Linked DNA regions of Homo sapiens: region 1 is linked to region 2. The links are contacts of gene promoters, found by promoter capture Hi-C in human tissues and cell types (Jung and others, 2019). All regions are on one chromosome and are shown on one strand. The core of a region is centred on a gene start or on the middle of the fragment in contact, and the rest is flanking DNA. Distances in the headings are between cores, read along the strand shown. Region 1 has its middle 100 kb from the start of NDUFV2. Region 2 holds the start of TWSG1 (twisted gastrulation BMP signaling modulator 1).

What was found. The method cuts DNA at HindIII sites, captures the fragments that hold promoters and counts their contacts. A contact is called where the count stands out against the background at its distance.
Region 1: a contact is called between a fragment that was not itself captured here and the fragment with the promoter of TWSG1 in region 2, in 1 of the 25 tissues and cell types used here (dorsolateral prefrontal cortex).

Annotation. Positions count from the first base shown.
Region 1 is chr18:8,995,342-9,000,657 of GRCh38, reverse strand. No RefSeq gene overlaps it. Among named protein-coding and RNA genes, the nearest start is that of NDUFV2, 100 kb to the left of the region's middle. RefSeq lists an enhancer at 2,604-3,105. The HindIII fragment of the contact is 3,280 bases long and covers 1,778-5,057 here.
Region 2 is chr18:9,332,579-9,338,536 of GRCh38, reverse strand. TWSG1 (twisted gastrulation BMP signaling modulator 1) reads right to left here and starts at 3,764. Exons shown (of 5, transcript NM_020648.6): 1 at 3,617-3,764; 2 at 1,185-1,344. The coding sequence starts at 1,307. TWSG1-DT (TWSG1 divergent transcript) reads left to right here and starts at 4,068. Exons shown (of 3, transcript NR_183523.1): 1 at 4,068-4,400. RefSeq lists enhancers at 3,164-3,213, 2,976-3,476 and a silencer at 3,274-4,063. The HindIII fragment of the contact is 24,059 bases long and covers 1-5,958 here.

The DNA.
Region 1 (5,316 bases), core at 2,168-4,667, 340 kb after region 2:
AATTCACTATATTAACCAAAATTCATGCTGGAAAGCTTGTCTGTCTTCAGTGGTCCCAGGCAGCGGCGGACAGCAGTCTTTCAGTGTCAAAGCTCATGTCCTCTATGGGACATCCCACTATTTTCCTGCTTCCTGAGAGACATCTTTAAATCTTAGTTTATACAGCAGAAATTATTGCTGGATGCACAATTAGGTTCTTCATGGCTATAATGTTACTTTCTATCCCCTAGTCCTCCTTGGAGGATTTATCAGGTTCTTTTCTGCTCTTGCCTTCCCTGGATAAATGTTTTTTTTTTTTTTTTACATCAATTATCTTAAAACGACAAACTCAACAAAAATAACTGGCACCAGGGGAAAAAATTTTGTTTTCTCTATGGCCATTAAAATGTGGCTGGTCATGTTCCTGGGGAAAAAAAGCGTGAAAAAGACACCAAAACCTGGGCGTCCTGCCTGAGATGTTTTTGTAGGTCAGAGTCCTGAAATCTTTAGGTTAAGCATAGCTCCAGTGGGCACGGCAACAGTCACTGCTAGCAAGACTCCTCAAGCTCACATTTCCTTTCTTTTCCACTAGATTCTCAGGGAGGCCTCCCGGGAGCTCTATGCTGACAGCACCAATGAGCTGATCGTGATGGAAAAGCAGCCCCCGATGGGGTTCGCATAATAGAGACTTCACAATGCATAAAGCAATAACAATAATTACAAAATGGGGGAAAATGCAAAGAGCTAATGGATTTTTGAGCTCTATTTTTTTTTTTTTCCTTGAGACGGAGTTTCGCTCTTGTTGCCCAGGCTGGAGTGCAATGGCGCGATCTTGGCTCACGGCAACCTCCGCCCCCCGGGTTCAAGCGATTCTCCTGCCTCAGCCTCCCGAGTAGCTGGGACTTATAGGCATGCACCACCATGCCCGGCTAATTTTATATTTTTAGTAGAGATGAGGTTTCGCCATGTTGGCCAGGCTACTCTCAAACTCCTGACCTCAAGTGATCCACCTGCCTCGGCTTCCCAAAGTGCTGGGACTACAGGCATGAGTCACCGCATCTGGCCTCTCTATTTTCAACAATACAGGTAGAATTATGTTTTTAGAAATTTGATTCTGTGCAATTTAAAGGTCTCCTGCTGATTTCAACATTTGGGGTTTCCTGTAGTTGTTCTGTCTAATCAATTCCTTCTGAAGAAAAAAAATAAAAGATGACATTTCCCCCTCTGCAAATTACTTAACCTGGAAAGGTTTCCCTTAGAAGCTAAGAAATGTTCTATTACTTAATTACTTACCATGACAAACATCCTTTCCTTCAAATGGAAATCTATTGGACAATAACTGCTTTAAAGGCATCCTAATCGTAGCTAAAAGTGACAAAAATGCTGCAGATGAACTTAAATATGAACATAGACTGTGCTTTTATGACATTCTGGATGCTTAAGTTTTATTCTTAGGTCAGCTGTTTGCACAAAAGAACTGGAGAGAGTGAGTGTTCCCCATTGTCCTGAATCTCTAAATTGACCTGTGCTGTTCCACCACCCTGCCACAGAATGACGATAAGATTAATGAGTGCTTTTGATGACAAGGATAGATGGCAAAAGTCCTAGCTCTATCTCAGATCTCCTGTGTTACCTTACTTACCCTCTCCAAGTTTATTTGCTTGTCTGTAAAGAGTCTGACAAAAAAATATGAGGCAACCACATTCCAATCCAAAGCGCTAATGGTAGAAAAAAAAAAATCAGCACCAAACAAGATTAAAGAGGCAGAATTCACTGGGGGCTGAAAGCACCCAACGTCAACAGAGGCAGAGGAGCCATCCCAGTGGATTAGTGGCTGTGAGGTTTAGGGGGCTAGTCACTAATCCGGGATTCTAGAAACTAGGGCTGCAACTAAAAGATAATACATGTTTTGCTCTATACTAGTTAAAATGCTTTTAAGCAGCACAAATATAGAGGCATCTGCAAAATGAGGGCATCCAACCATCTGTTACCATTCCTGATCACCTGAACACAACCTTCCTCTCAGCTCCCTTGAAGCTAGGCAGTCCTGCAGGCTGCAAAAAGAGGAAAGGCTGGGGGAAAGAAGAGATCAAAGAAGAGATGGTTTCTAGAGTGGTCTGGATACATTTGTGCACATACAATAAATATTTTTGGTAACTTCTGTATGAGACAAATTAATACTGTGCTTCATTTTCCTGGAAGAAGGAGGACAAATATGGTATTGGTCTGGATATACTTTATCTACCTTTACCCAAATGTCACTTACTCCTTTATTGATCTACTCATCTATCCATTCAATCAATATTTATTGAACACATTATATGCCATGTTCCATTCTAGGTGCTGGGGAGGCAGATACAGATGTAAAAGATACTCAAATAAAATGCTGTGAAGAAAAAAAAACAAGATAAAGGGGATAGTAAGTGACAGGGGAGATATCGCAGGGTAAGGAAGTGATTTTATTTGAAGAAATGTAATATAGATAATGGATTTGCATAGTAGCTGATAGGGAAAGACTTTGTGTTTTTAAATAACACTCAACTTTTTGTGTTTTTATTCCAATAATCATTCTATAAAAGAACCAGTTTCCCCTATGAAAAAACATAATAAATTATTTTTAAGAGTAATACATTTATGTGTAGAGGTATATAGATATTATATCAATTACAAGTTGAGGAATTAATTTCCAGGATGTCACAGGTTAAGTATTCTAGAAAAAGATGCTAGGTTGAAATTTGATGGGCACCGTGTTTGTTAGAGATCGACACCTATGGAAAGGAGACGAAGGAAGCAGGGTTTCTTTAGGGGAGTGGTCGAACTACAATGCAGCTCAGCAATGCTACCCTGTGGAGAGCTCGGGAGTGTCAATGGCTTGCCAGAGCAGGACCATGGTGGGCTGAAATGGCTGGACCTTTATACCCTACAACAATTGATCAATGGATATGGGTCACAGGAAGAGCATACTCTTGGGCAAGGCAGCTCTCTGCAACTGAGGCAAGAGACAGCTGCCACAAATCTTCCTTGAAAGGGTTGCAGGCAGTACATCTTCATGTCCCCCACATAAGGATATCTATGTGGCAAGCTAGGAGAAATACTTGCAACATAGTAACAGGTAGATATAAGATGTTAAAAGCCAAATAGACCTTAGGAATCAAGGAATGAAAAAAATTAACACTACAATTTAATATATATATATACACACACACACAGCATTTGATTGAGAGTCACAAAACAGATAATAAATATATGAAAAACGTTCAACCTCATTGAACTTTAAAACTATATAAATCAGAGTAATAAGATACCATTTTCTATCAGAAAGAATAAAGAATATCAGAAAGAATAAATTAAAAATGTAGCACTTAACAAGAGGAAGGACTGAGAACATGAGCACTCTTATGCAACTCTTCGTGGGAGTGTAAATTGGCATAACATTTCAGGAAGGCAATTTTGCAATCTGTATGAAAAGTCTTAAACTACACATGCCTGATAAGCCAGCTGTATTAGTTATCTATTACTGTGTAACAAATTAACCAAAGCTTAATTGCTTAAAACATAAGCATGTATTATTTCACAGTTTCTGTGGAATTTGAGAATAGCTTAGCTGGGTTGTCCTAGCTGAGGGTTTCTCATGAGGTTGCAGTTGAGCAGTCAGCTGGGGCTGCAGTCATCTGAAGGCTTGACAGGGGCAGGAGATCTACTTCATGATGGTGCACTCATGGCTATTAGCAAAGGGCCTCAGTTCCTCAGTTCCTCGATGGCTATTGGTGGGAGGATGCTGTTTTGGGCCCCTCCATAGGGCCACTTGAGTGTCATTGAGACATGGCAGCTGACTTCCTTTAGACAAGTGATCAAAGAGCAAACTGGAAGTCACAATGTCTTTTATGACCTACCCTCAGAAGTCATGTTCTGTCAGGCTGGGCCTGGTGGCTCATATCTGTAATCCCAGGACTTTGGGAGGCTGGAGTGGCAGGATCACTTGAGTCCAGGAGTCAAGACCATCCTGGTCAACACTGTGAAACTCCTGTTTCTACAGAAAATACAAAAATTGTCTGGATATGGTGGTGTGTGCCTGTAATCCCAGCTGCTTGGGAGGCTGAGGTGAGAGGATCGCTTGAGCCCAGGAGGTTGAAGCCGAGTGAGCTGTGCTTGCACCATGGCACTCCAGTCTGGGCCACAGAGTGAGACCCTGTCTCAAAAAAAGAAAGAAAGAAAGAAAGAAAGAAAGAAAGAAAGAAAGAAGTCATGCTCTATCATTTATGCCACATTCTATTCCTTAGTAATGAGTCACCGGGTGACTCACTCAAGCGGAGGGGAATTAGCTCCACAGAAGGGAGGGGTGTCAAAGAATTATTGAAAACCCCTCTGTTTGCCCACTGACCCAAAATTATTTATATTCCCTTCCACATACAAAAATACACTCACCCTATCCTAAGACTTCTCAAAATCTCATTTCTAAACAGCATGCAGTCAAAATAGGACATTGATATCTTAATTCATTCCAGGTGCAGATGAGGCTCCTCAGTGATGGTGAAGGAAATACAGCTTCTCCAGCATAGTTGTTCTTGGTCTGAGGACATGTGATGTACCGAGCCAAGCTCTATTTCTGGTAATTTATTCTGTCAAAGCATAATTTTCAAAAAGTTAAAAACATGACTCTCATACAAATATACAATTAGCACATGTCAAATATTTGTTCATTAATGAGAGATTCAGTAAGGTGGTAAAACTGGTTGGGAAAGCATTTTGAGGAACTGGGCATTTATAGGAATTTTTTTTTTTTTAACTGAGACGGGGTTTCATCATGTTGCCCAGGTTGGTCTTGAACTCCTGAGCTCAAGTGATCCACCTGCTTCGGCCTCCCAAAATGCTGGGTTATAGTAATATTTTTAAAAGAATGTTCAAATAGGCCAGGTGTGGTGGCTCACGCCTGTAATGCCCGCACTTTGGGAGGCCAAAGAAGGTGGATCACTTGAGCTCAGGAGTTCGAGACTAGCTTGGGCAACATGGCGAGACCCTGTCTCTATTTATAAAATTATTTCTTTAAAGAAATAAAGAAAAATTTTTTAAAAAAGGATGTTTAAATAACATTGCTAGGTTATATACACAATTGCATCATATGGTGCAGGACAATGGGACCATAACCTTTGTAATAAGATCTTCTACTGGATGGAAATATGTAAGTCCACAGAGAACTCCATAGTGTCTGAGTTATATTCAAATAGTAAATACTAAAGGCAAACACAGGGACGCTCTGTTAGAGAATTAAATAATCTTCAGTGGGCTTTTTAGACAATGCTCCAGCATGTTGTTGAAAGGACATGCACACTCCCTATT
Region 2 (5,958 bases), core at 2,515-5,014:
TTATCAACAAAACAGTATCAAGGGATTTGCTTGAAATTAAAACAGCTGGGAGTGAATAATGTAGGAGGGTATAGATAAAATAAGAGTAGCCATGAGGTAGTGACTGCAGTAACTACTCATGGATGGTTCATTATATTCTTCTCCTTTTATACCTGAAAATGTCCACAGCGAAAAAGTTAAAAACTGAACAGCAAACACACTTCTCTAGTTAAATGTTTTGGTTTGAAATGCAAAGTTAGGGTTATCAGAGTACGAAATGGGGGCAAGTAGAATTCCAACTATTAGCGAGAAGGACCAAAATGTCAGAAATAAGCACAAAATGCTTCTGATGTATAAAAACAATTGTCACTCTAGCACATATACACAATTACTCTCAAGTGAGGGTTACAGTCATGTTAGCTGACTCATACTTTACATAGAATGCTAATGTGTGTGGCTACTGAATTTCTGAGTGCACAGCCTGCAACTAGAAAGGAAGCTAATCAGGAGTTCAATACGAGCCTGTTAACTTAGCCACATTACTTCCTCTTACTTTTCTCCCCAGAAAAATGAGAGTGGTGGCTACATTAAGAGGCCTGCCTTGATGATTGGAAGAGATATAACTTCGAAGTATCTTGAAAGCAGATTGTCCAATCCCAGCCAACAACTTGCCTGCAACATTGTGGGAGACCCTAAGCCACAGCCACCTGGCTAAACTGCTCCCAGATTCCAGGCCCTCAGAAACTGCATGAAATAATACATGTTTATTGCACTAAGTTGCTATGTTTTGGGGTAATTTGTTACATAGCAATGGACAACTAATACATCATACTTAGGGTAACAATTTATCTATTATTTGACCAGCTAATTTTTTTTCTAAATACATTCATTGAACCTCTTTGCTATGTTAATTAGATTACACAGATTAAATCATCTGAATAGAGTGCTCATCACCTTGTAATGACATGTTTATACAACAGGATATTATACTCAGTATTGAACTTCTTGAATCTAACCTTGCCTATATATATTGATTGCTATGAGGGTAAAAATCCAGACCTGTGTGTCATGATTCAGTACCTCAGGCCCTGACCCAATACTCAGGTCTTACTCTATATGATATATGCACTCTATATCTGTATATAAACATAATGTTTCTGCTCTACAATATATTTTGATATTAATAAAAGTACTCTTAGTCCTACCTGAATGAGGCATTTGCTCACATCACTAGCACAGAGTGCTTTGTTACAGCTCAGTGATTCTGGAAGCCATGTCAGGAACATCAGGATGGCTAGAGTAAGCACAGCAACATAGTGTAACTTCATGTTTCTTCAAAGAAGATGATCAGTAACTCCCAGGAAACTAAACAAACAAACACAACTTTAATTCAAAGGCAAGTGCTAGGGTAAAAACAAATATAAAAATGAGAAACAAAACATAAACTAAGACTCATTGTTTGTGTCAATATACTTTTTCTTTCTTTTTTAGAGTCTTGCTCTGTTGCCCAGGCTGAAGTACAGTGGTGTGATCATAGCTCACTGCAGCCTTCAATTCCTGGGTTCAAGTGATCCTCCCACCTCAGCCTCCCAGTTATCTGGGACTACAGACAATACCACCATGCCTGGCCTTCAAAAAACTTTTGAGTGATCATTTAAAGATCATTCTCAATGAAAGATTATATAAACATTCAAAAATAAACAATAATTTTGTATAATAATGGCTTCATAGCCATCTTCAAGGACCTAGAACTCTACAGTTCCTCAGACTATCCAGAAATGGTGACTGTGAAAGTAGAGTGAGTATATCTAAACCCTCAGTAACTTGAGAGTATATCAGGCAAATAACTAGCTTCAATACTGCACTGCTACTATTCAACTTTAATTTTAGGTCCATTATTCAACTGTAAGCCCATATAAAACTATTAATATTGTATTATAATTTTAAGATATTTAATTTTAATTCTTAGAATCAAAACAAAATTTTAAATGGAAATTATTCAGGCTTATTTAGACAGAATAAAGCAGCTCAAAGCAAGAAGTAGAGTCCACAGAGTCACTTCTTAAATAATTGAGCAAATAACAAAAGGCTGTTTAATTACTAATTGCATTAAAAACTCTAGGTAATTATTAGAATGTGACGATATTCTTTTTTTTTTTTTTCTTTTAGACGTTGTCTCGCTCTGTCGCCCAGGCTGGAGTGCAGTGGCGCAATCTCGGCTCACTGCAACCTCCGCCTCCCGGGTTCATGCGATTCTCCTGTCTCAGCCTCCCGAGTAGCTGGGATCACAGGAGCCTATCACCACGCCCCGCTAATTTTTGTATTTTTAGTAGAGACGGGGTTTCACCATATTGGCCAGGCTGGTCTCGATCTCCTGACCTCAGGTGATCCACCCGCCTCGGCCTCCCAAAGTGTGGGATTACAGGGGTGAGCTACCGCGCCCGGCCAAGATATTCTTTTAATTCTATTAGTACCACACATTCTTCAAAGTTATTAAGAAGATACTACAGTTCAAAAAGAAGAAGGAAAAAAGACTAGCACAAACACAGTCTGACAGGGGCCAAACAGTATACAGTTATTAAACTTTAAATACGGGAAGATATCATTTCTTCAGGTTAAAACACCTCCCTATCAAACATAATAAATTAAAATAAATGACTACTGACGTAAGAGGGATAAATAGTGAGTTTATGGGGGCATTTATGATTACTCTAAACTTTTATTCTAAGTGTTACAAAGTACATTAAAGGAAAAATAATAAAAGGGTGAAAAGAATAAAGGGCTTTGGACCTGGTATGAGTCAATTTTGAAAGAGAAAACCCTGGTGATCGTTACTGAGGCTCACAAAGCATTCCCTAAAGACCGTTAGTAACTAATTTTCTAATGTATCTAACGCCGCATACCAAGTAGGATGATTTCTGGAGCAACCAGTACATATTTGCGGAGGCCAAATAAGGTTATTTGGAGACTAACTGTCGTGGAACTAGTTTTCATCCTACAACCATGAAAACTGGGATTTCCCCCCTTTCCCATCTTTTACGGTTGTCTTATGAAATGTTCCACAAATTCATCTTACTCCCCAAATTTCACTGGAAAAAGTATTCAAGTAACTACGACCATGTCGAAATCAGGTAATAGAATTAAAGGACTTATCTTTTCCTAAGGAGTTAGAAACCATCATGCATCAAAATTGTTTCGCATACATCACGCCCAAGTTTCTCGTTAAGGGAGATGGCACTGACAGCGACCAGGGCAGAGCCGAGCCTCTGTAGAGCGGTGCCAGGGCCCCGAAGGCGCCGGACGCCCCGCGAGGCAGAGGCCGGTAGCGGTGTGGGGGACCGGGCACCCGGAACCACCCCCACCCCGGCTCGGCCGACGCGGGCTGCGGAGGACGCGGGCCGGCCCAGAGATGGTCTGGACCAAAGCGGCGCAGAGATGCTGCTGGCTCCCGGCGTCCGGCCTGTGCGCCCGCGCCCAGCACCCCCACTTTGTCCTCCGCGCAGCCGGGCCCAGGCTTCTCCCGGCCCCCGCGAAGCTCGCCGCGGCCCCGGGCCTCTAGAGGGCCGAGCTCGGCGCCCGGCCCCTTCCCAACCAAGAGGCCAAGAGGCTGCACAACCCCCCAGCCGCTCCCACTCACCATGCGCCACGGTCCCGCGAAGTCGCCCACCCCTAGATCCCCGCCGGGTCGGCCGAGCCCGGGGCGCGCTGCGGCGGCTTTGAGTGCGAGGCCAGGCCGCGCCTCCCGCCGTCCCCTCAGCGCAGCGCCCGCGAGCCTCGGGCACCTTAAAGAGACAGGCCCGCCCGCCGCCCTCCTCCCGGCTCCTTGCTCCCCGCCCCTGCTCCCCTCTTCCCCTCCGCCCCCGCTGGGGTCCACAGCCGCCAGCTCCCGCCAGGAGGCGTCTCTCACTCCCCCGGCGCTCCTGTCAGCGCGCACGCCCCCATCTCGGCCCCGCCCACTCCCCCCGCCCCTCCCAACGCCACGCCCCCTCCGCGCCACCCGGTTTCGCCCCTCCCTCGTGCCACGCCTCCACCGCAGGCTCCCGCCCGCCCGCCGGCCCGCAGGCCACGCCCCCAGGCGCACCCACCCCAGCTGCTCAACGCGATTTCCCTTCGCGCTTCTCCGCACCGGGATCCCCAGTCCCTCAGGTTCCGACAGACCCTCCTGTCAGGCCCATTCTCCGGGCCCCCTCAGTTGCAGTGTTAAGATCAACAGTGTTAAGATTAAAGCCTTGTGATGTGCTAGCCACTACGCTGAGGATATGCCGTGTACTAAAATTCCTCAGGACTCCTCACAGCTGCCCTGTAAGGAAGCGGCCATGGCCGGGTTCTAGCGATGCGAGGCCGAGGCTCGGGGCGCTGAGTAGCCTAGCGCGTCGCCGAGGAGAGCTGGCACGTGAACCCCTTGTCGTTTGCCGTCAGAGGTAGGATTTATATAAAATGCGCGTTTCCTAGGTCTACCTCAGACCTACTGAATAAGGATCTCCAAGGGTAGAGCTTTCGAACTTCGTTCACCAATTCGATAAAACTTGCCAGGCTCCTTGTGAGTGGCTGGCGCTGAGCTCTGCATCGGAGCTCTGCATCGGGAGTCGAGAAGAGGGGGCGCCATGGATCCGGGCGCGGAGGTCGCGCAGCCTAGGTAGAAGGTGCGCGGTTAGCACGTAGGTTAAAAACATTGAGAATGACACTCAGTTCTTTCCCACAACTCTGGGTTGCTTTTTTTTTTTTTTCTTTTGAGACAAGGTCTCACTCTCACCAGGCTGGAGGGCAGTGACAACATCAGGCTCGCTGCAGCCTCCACCTCCTAGGCTCAAGCAATCCTCCCGCCTCAGCCTCCCGAGTAGCTGGGGCTACGGGCGCGCACCACCACGCCTGGCTAATATTTTATTTTTTTGTAGATATGGAGGTCTTGCTATGTTGCCCAAGCTGGTTTCAAATTTCGGGGCTCAAGCGATCCTCCCACCGCGGTCTCCTAAATCGTTGGGATGACAGGTGTGAACCATAGTGCCCGGCCGGAATTTGCTTTTTAAAGAAGATTCCAGGGTGATTAAGTTAGAGCCCGCTAGACCAGACCGTCCGCGGGGCACCTTCCCTTGGAAATGATGACCTAGTGTCAAACCCTTATGCTGGTAAATCGTAAATGCCTACCACCCACCTTTGTTGATTGGAAGGAAACAGAATGAAAACAGCTGATTGGCTGGGGGTGGATTGCATTACTGATGTTAGCCCACTTTTGTACAATAAATATGGGTTTTAAAAATCATCCTTGAAAATTATCCTAGAGAAATAATTAAGGGTATACCCAAATTTAAGTATAAGAATCTTATTCTTGGCATTATATACTAGTTAAGTGAATTAGGAAACTTCCGATCAATGCACTAATTCAGCCATTAAAAAGTGATACCGCAGATCAGAGGTTCTCAAACTTTTTCGTCTCGGAATCCCTTTACACTCCTGAAAATTATGGAGCATGCCAAAGAGGTTTTGTGTATGTGTGCTACATCTGTTAATACTTTCAAAATTAAAACAATTTTTTACATATTCATTATTTCATTTAAAAATAACAAACCCATTATATGATAACAAATATTTAATGAAAAATAAGTATATATTTTAAAACAGTAGGAAGAACAGCGTGGTTTTAGATTTTTGCTATTGCCTTTAACATCAAACTTAATAGCCACTGTTTTTATATCTGCTTCTGTATTCAAACTGTTGCAGTATCATGTATTATGTAGTTTCTGCTTGTGAGAGAATGAGGGTGAAAAGTCAAATAATGCCTTAGAATTAAAATTAAAATAATTTTGAGCTCACAACCTCCTGAAAATGTCTTGGGATCCCTCCCTAGCAGCCCCAGATCACACTATGACAATTAGTGTTGCAGATGAATATTGCGACTAGAGATATTCATGATACATAAAAAATTTTAAAGTACTGCATAGTTTTTGAATAATTAATTTTGTTGTTGTTTGTTTGTTTTTG